Linked DNA regions of Homo sapiens: region 2 is linked to region 1. The links are contacts of gene promoters, found by promoter capture Hi-C in human tissues and cell types (Jung and others, 2019). All regions are on one chromosome and are shown on one strand. The core of a region is centred on a gene start or on the middle of the fragment in contact, and the rest is flanking DNA. Distances in the headings are between cores, read along the strand shown.

Region 1 (7,711 bases), core at 1,220-3,719:
GGCAGTCTGTCCCGTGCTGGGATGGAGTCACACCAGTCAGTATCTGGAGCATCTCGGGCTAGGTTTTGAAAAAGAGTAAGTCAGGTTAGATAATGGAAAAGTTAGTCTTGAATACCATTTTGATACAAGTCATTGACTTTGGATTCCTGTAGATATGTAGATGATTGAAATAGGTGTCTACTCCATATTGTAGATAGTATTGAGAGGTTACATGTTGTAGATTAAGTCTTGGGAGGTTGTCAACATTAAGTCACCTTGTAAGAGTGCCCTGCTATTAGTTTTTTAAAAACAAGAATGTCAACAAAATTGGTAGAAGCAGTTGGGGGGTTTCTTACTCCTTCCAGTAACAATCCTTCCTTCTGTTCTTTAGAGGCGTTTCTCAAGCCTTAGTTTGGATATGAGTTATCTGAAGATTGTTTTTGAGTTCAGGTCTGGTTCAGAACTGGGGTGGGGCCTATGATTCCTCATTTTATTAGTGCTGCCCATCCTGGCTATGTATTGGGAAGGAAGGCAGGTGAGAAGAGTGAATTTATAGTTTGAGTCTGTTCTGACTTTGAGGACGGGCTCTCAGTCAGGCGAGACTTTCTAAAGTTGAGTAGGCATCATACTTCCTGCTGTTTCCTTAGGGAAATGCTCAGATACCCCTCCAGCTTGTGGGATGGAAGACCTGGGTCCTAGTCTCAGTGCACATCTAGCTCTGTGGAGGTATTTTTCCAAGTTCCCTTGCTAGCTTCAGTTTTATTTCCTATCATTCTCCCCATGGGTGAAAAGCTCCTGGTTCTGGGAGAGTTCTTTGAATCCCAGCTCAGTCATTCACCAGTGATAGGCCCTTGGGAAAACTTCCTGGCAAGAGATAGGTTGTATTTTTTTTTTTTTTTTTTTTGAGACAGGGTTTCGCTCTTGTTGCCCAGGCTGTAGTGCAAGGGCACGATCTCAGCTCACCACAACCTCAGCCTCCCAGGTTCAAGCGATTCTCCTGCCTCAGCCTCCCGAGTAGCTGGGATTACAGGCATGTACCACCACACCCGGCTGATTGTGTGTTTTTAGTAGAGATGGGGTTTCTCCATGTTGGTCAGGCTGGACTCCAACTCCCGACCTGATCCACCTGCCTCAGCCTCCCAAAGTGCTGTGATTACAGGTGTGAGCCACTGTGCCTGGCCAGCAGTAGTATTTGCAGCACTATGTTAGGGTTAGGGAAGGTAACACCTGAAGTGCTTACCCACAGTGCCTTGGCATTGAGGAGTCTCAATTGGTAGTTATCCTAAGGATTGCCCATGGAGGTGAGAGTTGGGACATGATCCTTCCTTCATTAGTGTCAGGTGTCACTGCACAGAGCAGGTCAGAGAGGACCAAGAGTACTTTCACACCCCACCCCCACCACCCCCACAAGACCCTGAGAGCTTCCAGCCTTTACCTAGAAGATCCATAGGACACTTGAGCAGCTTCCTCTCTGTAACCACCTTGTGTTCAGCCGCGCCTGCTCCTTCAACTCCAACTGGCATGATGTAGTGGGAGTCCTGGAGAGACAGGCCCTTGGGGGTCAGCCTGGATGGTAGCATGAGGCGCTTCACACAGTCTCCCTGGCCATTGGGTCATACTCACCCACTCAGTGACATAGCAGCTGCTATAGGTTGCCTCCAACACCACGGAGCTGCCTGGACCTTTTCTTATCCAGGTGCCACAGTCGGAGTCATTCTGCAGCTCGTGCAGCAGCCCTTGGTTGTCTGGAGGGGTGGGGAAGAGGTGAGAAAACACAGCGGTCAGTCTCCAGTGCCAGAAAGGATAGTCAGCCTTGCCATTAGACCCCAAGGAGCAACTGTCAATAAGAGGAACAAGAGGGAAATCAGATTCAGATCAGATGTAGTTATAACTTAGACTATTTCTTTTGCAGAAAGATGCAACAGGGCTCAGAAGGTGAAAGTATCAATACGGGAAGATAGGGAGACATCTTAGGTAGTAGAGGAGACATATCATTGCTTGGCTAAGCAAGGCAAGTCATCAAACTTACCCCAAGCTATTAGTACAGGAGGAGACGTTGCCTCCTGGTTGAGGTTTACAGCAAACTGGAAGCTCCACGGCCCACAGTGGAGCACACTGGAATAATCTGGTGCCTCAGGCTTATGCTGGCCACTCACAGCAAGAGATAATGAAACACACAGCAAAACGCACCGCAGCAGCCACATAATGCTACCAGGAGTTCCTGCCGGCTGCAGACTCTCCGCCTCCTCTCCCAAGAGCCGAGGGTCTGCCTGCCCAGATTCCTTTATATACAGAAGTCAGGCTTGTTTTCAGCTGCACATCTTTGTGACACTCAGGTGGGATGCCTTCAGAAAGGGGAATTCCTCTAGCCTCATTTGCTTTGGGGCACAGTCTGCAGCTGCCTCACATTAAATACCACAATCCAGGCAGACTTCAGAGCCCAAGAAAAATGTAGTAACTTTTAGCTAACAGAAAGGAAGGAAAGAAAGCTTCCTCAGGGTTGCTCAACATAGCATTTGTCCCACCAGTTTATTGAACTTATTGACTTCAGAAGACCTCCCTCTAGAATTTTGCACATTTGGGTGTGAAACTACCATCTATGAACTATGGGGTCTGGGTACGTTACAAACTCTCTGAATCTTGGTTTTCTCATCTGTAAAATGGGAATGCTATCTCCTGGCAGTGGTGTGCTTGAGGATTAAGCAAGAGATTCTATGTCAGGTGCCTGGCACAGTGCTTGGCCAAGCAGTGAGTGCTCAGTCAACATTGTCGGGTGAGAGTTGGGGCCCTTGAGAAGCCTTGTCACCTTCTCCATCCATTCTAGAAAAGTTTCTGTACGATTAGAGCCTGTCTTGAAATTCTAGAAAAAAATCTAAACTTATTTCCTGAGAAAGGTTGATTTTGAACCCTTTCCTGGTCCTTAGAGGGAATCCTACCACAGCAATCTTTCAACAAATTCCAAAGTGGTTCATTGCCATAACTGTCCTACAGTGTTTCCCCACAGGATCTGGGGGAAATGTGGATTAGGCCATGAATTCCTCAAACTGGTTCTGCCTCTTACAGCTATTTGACAATTTTATCTTTCGGCTGTGTTTCAGGCATATTTCATAAAGATGTCAGGGTTTCTTGCTTGCTTTCTACATTTTTGTTTTCCACATAAACTACAAGTTATATACTTTGGTCACTCTTTAAGCTAGAGTGTCAGACCAGATTGTAGAGAAATTCTAAGAGATTTGGGGATAAATGGATACATTCCCCACTGGAGAGGCAAGAGCATGGAAACTTGTCTTCTGCAGTCTGCCACCAATATTCCCAAATTGTACCCTGATTGTATTTAGACTGATATTTTTCGGTTGACTAAAAATTGTAGTCAAAGCACTGAGAATGTGTAACTAGGTATCTCTAGTTCTCTTCAACTCATCACAGAGGACAAATAAGTATGTGTCTTCCTGGGAAAATTGGTGGCCCTTTTAACCACATGATGAAAAATGACATTGAAGGAAAGCTGGACTCTGCCCTCAAAGACAGATGTGGCTTCCCTGACACCGTCTACCTGGATTAGGTGCTCACCACTGGGTTATTACATGCCATTTACTCACAGGATTTGCCAGGTTGGATTGTAATGACCTCTTTCTTATTCAGTTTGCCACTAGAAGCACGTGAGGCCAGGGACTTTTTTATTTGTCACTGCATCCTGCGTGCCTTGGATGTATGTACTCAGTGTTCTCTGAGTAAAGACTGAATCAATGAATATGCTTTCATTAGTGGCCATGTCCTAGGGCTAACCCCCTTGAAAATGTAGTTTCCAAACCTCACCGGTACAAATTCATTTCCTTTATGATGAGCTCAAACTCATAACCCTTAGGTATTTTTCCTTCAAGTAAATATCATGTGATTGCACATGTAAGAAAGAATCTGAGGATTTGACTCATGCAAGATGTCTCAGGAGTTAAAAGGCCAGTCTCCTGACTAGACTTACTAATATTGCTTTATGCTGAGACCAGCTCAGTCGGGGAGACCCTAACCCAGGGATGCTAGAGGAATAAAGACACACACACACACACAAATATAGAGGTGTAGAGTGGGAAATCAGGGGTCTCACAGCCTTCAGAGCTGAGAGCCTCGAACAGAGATTTACCCACATATTTACTGACAGCAAGCCAGTGATAAGCATTGTTTCTATAGATTATAGATTAACTAAAAGTCTTCCTTATGGGAAACAAAGGGATGGGCTGAAATAAAGGGATGAGCTCTGGCTAGTTATCTGCAGCAGGAGCATGTCCTTAAGGCACAGATCACTCATGCTATTTGTGGTTTAAGAACACTTTTAAGCGGTTTTCCATCCTGGGTGGGTCTGGGGTTCCTTGCCCTTATTCCGGTAGACCCATAACCTTGCAGCGTGGGCATCATGGCCATCACGACCATCACGAACATGTCACAGTGCTGCAGAGATTTTGTTTATGGCCAGTTTTGGGGCCAGCTTATGGCCAGATTTTGGGGGGCCTGTTCCCAACAGCTTTATAAAGTGGTGAAAAGTCAAGGAGCGTAACTTCCTTTGCTCATACTTGGAGGCAATATAGTATAGTATATCATGTGAGTTTTGACAATGGGTGGACTTGGGTACAAATTCTGACTGTTACTCTGCAACCTCTGTCAATGTATTAACCTCTTTCTCTCAGTTACAGTTTTTATATCTGTAAAATAGGGATAATAACATGGACAGTATTATTACAACAGACGGTTAGATGAAATAATGTATGTACAATGCTTGTTGCATAATTGCTACATTGTCACTAACATCAACAGGACCAGCCTGGGAGATAAAGGTGAGATGGGTGGCAAATGGAAAGCAAATGCCAAGCAGTGCACTCATTGGATCTGCAGGGAGTCTGAGGAACAGCCTATACTCATGAGGCTGCATTCCCAAATGAGGTCCTGTGTTTACATAATGAAGTTGAAAAATCACACAAGCCTGGAACTATGTGGAGCTATCTTGAAGTCCACCTAGGATCACACCCATCTCTCTGATGCTGCAGAGGGTCAAAGATGGATGCCAAGATAATGCAGGCAGGTCTGGGGTTAGGTAATGTTATGCTCATTCCTCTGCTGAATCTTCCAAGAACATCATCATTTAATTTCGGGATGAGAAAATGCACTGATAATGTGTGATCCACCTCGAGGAGCCCCAGGCTTAACAGAAAAAACATCCTATCCACTATTATCACAACATGAATGCTCTGTCCTTTGAATGTGAAAGGGCAAATGCTGTTCTTTGTCTTATGTCAGAATCACCCAGTCATTTAAAAATTGTTTCAGAGCCATTACGAACAGATTATGAGGCATCCTAATGTGTACAGACTTATCAAAAGCCCCATAGTCATGGTAGTATTCATGCAACCCACATTTTATAGGCGGGCTTAAGGATTCCCCTTGTGTTCCTTACCAAAGTACTTGGGAGTCCTGCACTGAAGCTAAGCTGCCCATTCCTCATTCACTGAAGCTGCCCATTCCTCATTCAGTGATCTGGCCACTCAGGTCATGAGGGCAACCTGTGTGATTGGGGAAAGGCAAACGGTGATTTCCAAAAACCTTCTTCAATCTGGTCATATTTACATTTGAGTGTTTCATTTTAAACTGCAGAATAGGGACATCACCCCACAAGGTTTGGATAGCATGGAGCTGTAGTACAATGCTTTCTGGCCATTGAGTACAGACTCCTCATCTGACATTAACAGTGATTGCCCCGCTGTGACTGGAGCAGGGTCCTCCTAACTGGAGAGTGAAGTACCACTCAAACAAGGCCCCAGGAAGCCCACTTCAAGTGTGGAGAAGCAATAATCAAAATTATCCCTCAAATATGGAGGGATGATTAGACCATTGTTGTGTTAATCAGTAATTAGGGAGCAAGGATGGTGCATCCAGCTGCTCTCTGCATGTGGTGGAAATTAGGACACTTCTCTTCTGAAGGAAGATGTCAAACTTAATTTACTGTAAGTACTTACATGGTTTTCCTTTTCAACAAGCAAGAATGAAGTGTAATTCAGAGTCAGTTGCGATGGCTTCCATTACTGGGTCTCTTGTTTCAACGCCTCTTTTGTGTCCAAGGTACAAGACCTGTCTCTGAAGTGTCTCCTGTGCTGACTGCACAGCACCTGCTCTGTTCTGATGTCTCTCCCCTCCCTGCTCCACACCTTCCTTTGCCATGATGGGTGGAAAATTATCATTCCCTTTCACAGGCAGGAGGATACCCTACTGAATGGGTAGTCGGACTTTGAGAGGGATGTCAGTATGGTTGACCCTTGAACAATGTGGGGGCTAGGGGTGCCAACCCCGCATGCAGCCAAAAATCCATGTAGAGTTTTTTGGTCCCCCTCAAATGTAACTAATGTAATTGCCTGATGGGTTTGTCTTACTTGCTGCACAGGCAAGATCAATTCACTGAGACCCTGACATTCTGATGAGGAAAGAATATCATTGATGTGAGGCCAGCCACATGGGAGACAGTTATGACTCAAATCAGTCTCTGAAGGCTTGGAGGTTAGGGGGTCTTCAAGCATAGTTTGGTGGGCAGGGGACTAAGGAACAGCTGCTGTTGATTCATTGGAATGCACTCTTAAGGGTATGGAAAATGGTCCTTGTGCACTGTGTTCACTTCTGGATCACGGGGCCACGGGACCAGTTGGGTCATGAGTCACAGGTCTGCCTTTGGGTGGGGGTCAGTCAGTTGCCAGAATGCAAAAGCCTGAAAAATACCCCAACATATCAATCTTAGGTTCTACAATAGTGATGTTATCTATGGGAGTAATTGGGAAAAGTTACACGTCTCCTGACCCACAAAACAATGCCTGGTTATCTGTAAGTACACCTAGATCTTAGCAGAATTCCAGCACCTCTCATCCTAACCTTGTAGACTTTCATTAGTCTTACAAAGGTGGTTTAGTTTTGGGAAAGGCTATTATGAACCCTGCTTTAAGGTTACATTATAAACTAAATCTCTCCCAAAGTTAGCTTGGCTTACTCTCAGGAATGACCAACAACAGCTTGGAGGTTAGATGCAAGATAGAGTTAATTATGTCAGACTTCTCTTACTTCATAATTTTGCAAAAGTAGTTTCACTAATAGCCTATTGTTGATCAGAAGCCTTACCAATAACATAAACAGTTGATGAACACATATTCTGTATATGTATTATATTATATACTGTACTCTTATAATAGAGTAAGCTAGATAAAAAAATGTTATTAAGAAATCATAAGGAAGAGAAAATGTTTCCTATTCATTAAGTGGAAGTGGATCACCATAAAGGTTTTCATCTTTGTCATCTTCACATTGAGTAGGAAGAGGAGGGGTTGGTCTTGCTGTCTCAGGGGTGGCAGAGGTGGAAGACAACCTATGTATAAGTGGACTCATGTGGTTGAAACCCATATTGTTCAAGGGTCAACCATATGTTGATATTCCTATTTCTGAAAGTGAAAGAAGAGATTAAGAAAGAGGTAGGAGACTAAGTTGCTAAAGAAAGAAAAAGAGTTAAAATTTAAAACTTTTGCACTGGAAGTCCTGACTTCAACACAATGATATATATCAATGTAGCAAAATTGCACTTATACCCCATGAATATATGCAAATAAAAAATAAAAATTAGAAAATATAAAATTAAGGACTTTTGGGTGGGGAATTACAGATAAGGTTAGTGAAAATTTTCTGGCCCAGACAGACTGCCTCTGTTGAAGTT
Region 2 (6,955 bases), core at 1,630-4,129, 540 kb after region 1:
TGGGTGCATCAATAGGTCATTGTTTTATTGCTAAGTAACCTACACCAAAGTTAGTTTATTCATTAAAATATTGATGGACATTTGAGTTATTTCTAGTTCATGATCATTTAAATAAAGTTTCTCTTTGTGGGCATATGTTTTCATTTTTCATGGGTAAATGCTAAGATTGGAATTACTGGATATGTGTATGTTTCACGATATCTCATTGTGGTTTTACACTATGAGTAATGAAGTCTTTTCAGAATTTCTCTTGTGCAGTGTCTGTTCAAGTATTTGATTGTTGATTATATTGAGTTGTGTCTTCTTATTTATTTTTAGAAGTTAATGATAAATCCTGACTACAATATGTATGTACATATATACATACACACACACACACACACACATATATATATATGAAAAGGCAATTCATGGAATGGAAGAATATATTTACCATATATTGTGTGTCTTGAAGAGCTGAAATTTTAAATTTTGATAAAGTCTTTTATGGTTAGTGCTTTTTATATTCTAAGAAAATTTTGCTTACCTGTGTTCATAAAATTTCTGCTGTGCTCTCTTCTAACTGCAATCTCCACCTCATGGGTTCGAGCGTTTCTCCTGCCTCAACCTCCCGAGTAGCTGGGATTACAGGTGCGCACTACTACACCCAGCTAATTTTTGTATTTTTAGTAGAGACAGGGTTTCACCATGTTGGCCAGGATGGTCTCGATCTCCTGACCTCATGATCTGCCCGCCTTGGCCTCCCAAAGTGCTGGGATTACAGGCGTAAGCCACCATGCCTGGCCAAGGCTTCATATTTTTAACCTTCAGTGTTTGGTCTGTGATCAATGTCTAGTTATTTTTTGTGCATGATAGGAGATAAGGGTCAATACTTATTTTGTCCTATATGGTTATCAAGGTGTTCCAATGCTATTTATTGAAAAAGCTATAGTTTGCCCCTGGAACTACCTTGACATTTTTGTCAAAATCAATTGATCATAAATATGAGAGCCTATCATTGAATTCATCTCTTTCATTGACACACTTATTATCATTGTGCCAACTCCATATTGCTGCTAACTGTAATATAACTTACATGTGAAAAAAATCTTGAAATTATATTTTGAATTTTCATTCAAATTTGAGGCATGAAATTGCCCTAGTTTTATAGAAAGAAGTGTAAAGATGCATCTGTATTTTGAGTCCCATGCATGATCTGTATATCCGACAAATAATGGAAGGAAAGAAGAGAGTAAAAACAGTGAATATGAGGGGCTCACAGGACCAAGAGGAAATACAAACTAGCTACCTCTTTCCTAATGCTAGTGAGTCACTAAAGCATTAGTCAATTAATTGTCTTGATATAAGTCATCAATAGTCTTCAGAAAACTTCTCTGGGGAGCAGCTTTTATATTTTAATGCAGAAACCAAAAGTGGAAATCAAAATTAGGTGAGGACAATAGTGTTTTCTCATAATATGTAGTATATAACAAATGTAACATAAACTTTTTGATATGAAGAAGATTTTCATTTACCATTGTAAAAAATTTGTGATATCTTCATAGTTTCCATCTTTTTAGGTTGTTTTCCTTGTGACTCAAATGAGGAAGAATAAACTTGGTTTAGGACTATTCAATGCCAGTGTTTTCAGATGGTGAGTAATTGTAATTATCAAGGACTCTGGAGTCCTGGTTTAAGGGGATATTGAGTGAACTTCTGAGTGAGAATCATGAACCTTTTCAGCATTTTGGTTTTAAAATATTACAAGTAAATGCCTTTTCTTGAGAAAGCATTCCGCAGAAGGTATTTATGTATTTTTTCCAGGTGAATTAAGCTCTAGTTTGAATGACTATGAGCCTGCCTCTGCTAGACATCAATTCCTACTTCATAGTTCTTCTCTTTTTGTTCTTTTGTGGTTTATTTAATTTTTTAAACTTTATTTTTAATGATAAATAATAATGAGCTATATTTATGGGGTATAATGTGATGATTAGATATGGGTTTACAATGTGGAAAGATTAAATCTGGCTAATTAACAAATTAATCACTTCACAAACATTACTTTTTTATAGTGAAAACATTTAAAGTCTACTCTTTCAGCAATTTTGAAATATGCAGCATATTATTATTTATAGTAATCACCATTCTGTAAAATAGATCACCAAAGCTTATTCCTCCTCACTAACTGAAACTTTGTACCCTTTAATAAACATCTTCCCCTTCCTCATTGATTCTTCTCCCCCAGCCTCTGGTAACCATCATTATACTCCCTATTTGTGTGAGTTCAACTTTTTTAGATTTCACATATGAGAAAGATCATGCAGTATTTGTCTTTCTGTGCCTGGCCTATTTCACCTCCGGGTTCATCTATGTTATCCCAAAAGACAGGGTTTTCCCCCTTTCCAATGCTAACTAGTATTCCATTGTGTATATATGCTACATTTTCTTTATCCATTCATTTGATGATAGACACCTAGGTTGCATCCATATCTTAGCTATTGTGAATAACATTGCAATGACCACAGGAGTTCAGTTATCTCTTTGGCATACTGATTTGATGTATATTCCTTTGGATAAACACCCAGTAGCAGGATTACTGGATTGTGCAGTAATTCTATTTGTAGTTGGCTGAGGAGCCTTCATCCTATGGCTTTGTTCATTTACATTCCCACCGACAGTATACAAGGGTTCCCTTTTCTCCATACCATTGCCAACCCTTGTTACATTTCATTTTTTAATTAATGCCCATTCTAACAGATGTGGTTTTAACTTGCTTTTCCCTGATGGTCAATGATAATGAGCATTTTTTTATACCTCTGGCTTTTTTTGTTTTATGAATGCACTTTTTTTTGATATTTATTTATTTTCTTTATTTTTGCATGTTTTGGGGTACAGGTGGTATTTGGTTACATGAGTAAGTTCTTTAGTGGTGATTTGTGAGATTTTGGTGCACCCATCACCCAAGCAGTATACACTGCACCATATTATTTAGTCTTTTATCCATCGCCCCCCCCACCCTTCTCCCCAAGTCCCCAAAGTCCATTGTATCATTCTTATGCCTTTGCGTCCTCATAGCTCAACACCCACACATCAGTGAGAACAAACAATGTTTGGTTTTCCATTCCTGAGTTACTTCACTTAGAATAATAGTATCCAATCTTATCCGGGTCGATGCAAATGCTGTTAATTCATTCCTTTTTATGGCTGATTAGTATTCCAATATATAAATATAACACAGTTTCTTTATCCACTCGTCGATTAATGGGCATTTGGGTTGGTTCCACAATTTTGCAATTGTGAATTGTGCTGCTATAAACATGCTTCTGCAAGTATCTTTTTTATATAATGACTTCTTTTTCTCTGGGTAGATACCCAGTAGTGGGATGGCTGGATCAAATGGTAGTTCTACTTTTAGCACTTTAAGGAATCTCCACACTGTTTTCCTTAGTGGTTGTACTAGTTTACATTCCCACCAGCAGTGTAGAAGTGTTCCCTGTTCACCACATCCATGCCAACATCTACTGTTTTTTGATTTTTTGATTTTGGCCGTTCTTGCAGGAGTGAGATGGTATCACATTGTGGTTTTGATTTGCATCTCCCTAATCATTAGTGATGTTGATTATTTTTCCATATGTTTGTTGGCCATTTGTATATCTTCTTTTGAGAATTGTCTATTCATGTCCTTAGCCCACTTTTTGATGGGATTGTTTGTTTTTTTCTTACTGATTTGTTTAAGTTCATTGTAGATTCTGGATATTAGTCATTTGTCAGACGTACAGATTGTGAAGATTTTCTCCCACTCTGTAGATCTGTTTCCTCTGCTGACTGTTCTTTTTGCTGTGCAAAAGCTCTTTAGTTTAATTAAGTCCCAACTATTTATCTTTGTTTTTATTGCATTTGCTTTTGGGTTCTTGGTCATGAAGTCCTTGCCTAAGCCAATGTCTAGAAGGGTTTTTCCAATGTTATCTTCTAGAACTTTTACAGTTTTAGGTCTTAGGTTTAAGTCCTTAATCCATCTTGAGTTGATTTTTGTATAAGGTTAGAGATGGGGATCCAGTTTCATTCTCCTACAGTGTCTTGCCAATTATCCCAGCACCATTTGTTGAATAGGGTGTCCTTTCCCCACTTCATGTTTTTGTTTGCTTTGTCAAAGATCACTTGGCTGTAAGTATTTGGCTTTATTTCTATGTTCTCTATTCTGCTCCATTGGTCTATATGCCTATTTTTATACCAATACCATGCTGTTTTGGTGACAAAGGCCTTATAGTATAGTTTGAAATCAGGTAGTGTGATGCCTCCAGATTTCTTTTTGCTTAGTATTGCCTTGGCTATTTGGGGTTTTTTTTTTTGGTTTCATATGAATTTAACAATTTTTTTTTCTAATTCTGTGAAAAATGATGGCTGTATTTTGATGGGGATTGCACTGAACTTATATACTGCTTTTGGCAGTATGGTCATTTTCACAATATTGATTCCACCCATCTATGAGCATGGGATGTGTTTCCATTTGTTTGTGTCATCTATGATTTCTTTCAGCAGTGTTTTGTAGTTTTCCTTGTAGAGGTCTTTAGCCTTGTTGGTTAGGTATATTCCTAAATATTTTATTAATTTTTTTTTTGCAGCTATTGTAAAAGGGGTTGAGTTCTTGATTTGATTCTCCATTTGGTCACTGCTGGTGTATAGAATAGCTACTAATTTGTGTACATTAATCTTGTATTTAGAAACTGCTGAATTTTTTAATCAGTTCTAGGAGTTTTCTGGAGGAGTCCTTGGGGTTTTCAAGGTAAACGATCATATCGTCAGCAAACAGTGACAGTTTGACTTCCTCTTCACTGATTTGGATGCCCTTATTTCTTTCTCTTGTCCAATTGCTCTGGCTAGGACTTCCAGTACTATGTTGAATAAGAGTGGTGAGAATGGGCATCCTTGTCTTGTTCCCAGTTCTCAGAGGGAATGCTTTCGACTTTTCCCTATTCGGTATTATGTTGGCTGTGGGTTTGTCGTAGATGGCTTTTATTACATTGAGGTGTGTCCCTTGTATGCTGATTTTGCTGACAGATTTAATCATAAAGGATGCTGGATTTTGTTGAATGCTTTTTCTGCATCTATTGAGATGATCATGTGATTTTTATTTTTAATTATGTTTATGTGGTGTATTACATTTATTGACTTGTGTATGTTAAACCATCCCTGCATCCCTGGTATGAAACCCACTTCCCACTTGATCAGAGTGGATTATCTTTCTGATATGTTGTTGTATTTGGTTAGCTAGTATTTTATTAAGGATTTTAGCATCTAGGTTCATCAAGAATATTGGTCTGTAGTTTTCTTTTTTGGTTATGTCCTTTCCTGGTTTTGGTTTTTGGGTGATGCTGGCTTCATAGAAATAATTAGGGAGGGTTCTTTCTTTCCCTATCTTGTGGAATAGCGTCAAAAGGATTGGTACCAATTCTTCTTTGAATGTCTGGTAGAATTCTGCTGTGAATCTGTCTGGTACTGGACTTTTTTTGTTGGTAATTTTTAAGTTACGATTTCAATCTCCCTGCTTGTTATTGATCCGTTCAGGAGTACCTAATTCTTCCTAATTTAAACTAGGAGGGTTGTATTTTTCCAGGAGTTTATCCATCTCTTCTAGGTTTTCTGATTTATGTGGGTAAAGGTGTTCATAGTTGCCTTGAATGATCTTTTGTATTTCAGTGGTGTCAGTTGTAATACCTACTGTTTCATTTCTTAATGAGGTTATTTGGATTTTCTCTCTTCTTTTCTTGGTTAATCTTGCTAATAGTCTATTAATTTTATTTATCTTTTCTAAAAACCAGCTTTTTGTTTCATTTATCTGTCGTATTTTTTTTGTTTTAATTTCATTTACTTCTGCTCTGATCTTGGTTATTTCCTTTCTTCTGCTGGGTTTATTTAGGTTTGGTTTGTTCTTATTTCTCTAGTTCCTTGAAGTGTGACCTTAGCATGTCAGTTTGTGCTCTTTCAGTCTTTTTGATGTAGGTGTTTAGGGCCATGAACTTTCCTGTTAGCACCGTCTTTGCTGCCTCCCAGAGGTTTGGATAGGTTGTGTCATTATTGTTCAGTTCAAAGAATTTTTTAATTTCCATCTTGATCTTGTTTTTGACTGAATGCTCATTCAGGAGCAGGTTATTTAATTCCCATATATTTGCATCGTTTTGAAAGTTCCTTTTGGAGTTCATTTCTAGTTTTATTCCACTGTGGTCTGAGAGAGTGCTTAATATAATTCAAATTTCTCAAATTTATGGAGAGTCATTTTATGGGCTATCATATGGTCTATCTAGGAGAAAGTTCCATGCACTGTTTAATAGAATGTGTATTCTGTGGTTGTTGGATGAATTGTTCTGTATATATCTGTTAAGTCCATTTTTTCCAAGGTATAGTTTAAATCTATTGTTTCTTTGTTGACTTTCTGTCTTAATAACCTGTCTAGTGCTGTCAGTGGATTACTGAAGTCCCCCACTATTATTGTGTTGTTATTTCATTTCTTAGGTCCTATTAGTAATTGTTTTATAAATCTGGGGGCTCCAGTGTTAGGTGCATATACGTTTACGATTGTGATATTTTCCTGTTGGATAAGGCCTTTTACCATTATGTACTATCCCTCTTTGTTGCTTTTAACTGCTGTTGCTTTAAAGTTTCTTTTGTCTGATGTAAGAATAGCTACGCTTGCTGGCTTTTGGTGTCCATTTGCATGAAATACCTCTTTTCACCCCTCTACTTTAAATTTATGTGAGTCCTTAAGTGTTAGGTGAGTCCCCTGAAGGCAGCAGATAGTTGGTTGGTGAGTTCTTATCCATTCCACAGTTCTGTATCTTTTAAGTGGAACATTTAGACCATTTACATTCAATGTTAGTATTGAGATGTGAGGTACCATTGCATTCATCATGCTATTTCTTGCCTAGGTGTCTTGTTTTTTTTTGTTTTTGTTTTTTTCTGTTTTTGAATAGAAGCGGTG

What was found. Contacts are between HindIII fragments. The study calls those that stand out against the background at their distance.
Region 2: a contact is called between a fragment that was not itself captured here and the fragment with the promoter of ZP4 in region 1, in 1 of the 25 tissues and cell types used here (hippocampus).

The regions. Positions count from the first base shown.
Region 1 is chr1:237,888,453-237,896,163 of GRCh38, forward strand. It overlaps ZP4 (zona pellucida glycoprotein 4), which reads right to left and starts at 2,470. Exons shown (of 12, transcript NM_021186.5): 1 at 2,009-2,470; 2 at 1,603-1,724; 3 at 1,415-1,517; 4 at 1-58. The coding sequence starts at 2,183. It also overlaps the pseudogene LOC100130331. The HindIII fragment of the contact is 12,268 bases long and covers 1-7,711 here.
Region 2 is chr1:238,423,879-238,430,833 of GRCh38, forward strand. It overlaps LOC105373220 (a long non-coding RNA gene), which reads left to right. Exons shown (of 5, transcript XR_949308.3): 4 at 1,560-1,633. Among named protein-coding and RNA genes, the nearest start is that of LINC01139, 59 kb to the right of the region's middle. The HindIII fragment of the contact is 4,403 bases long and covers 679-5,081 here.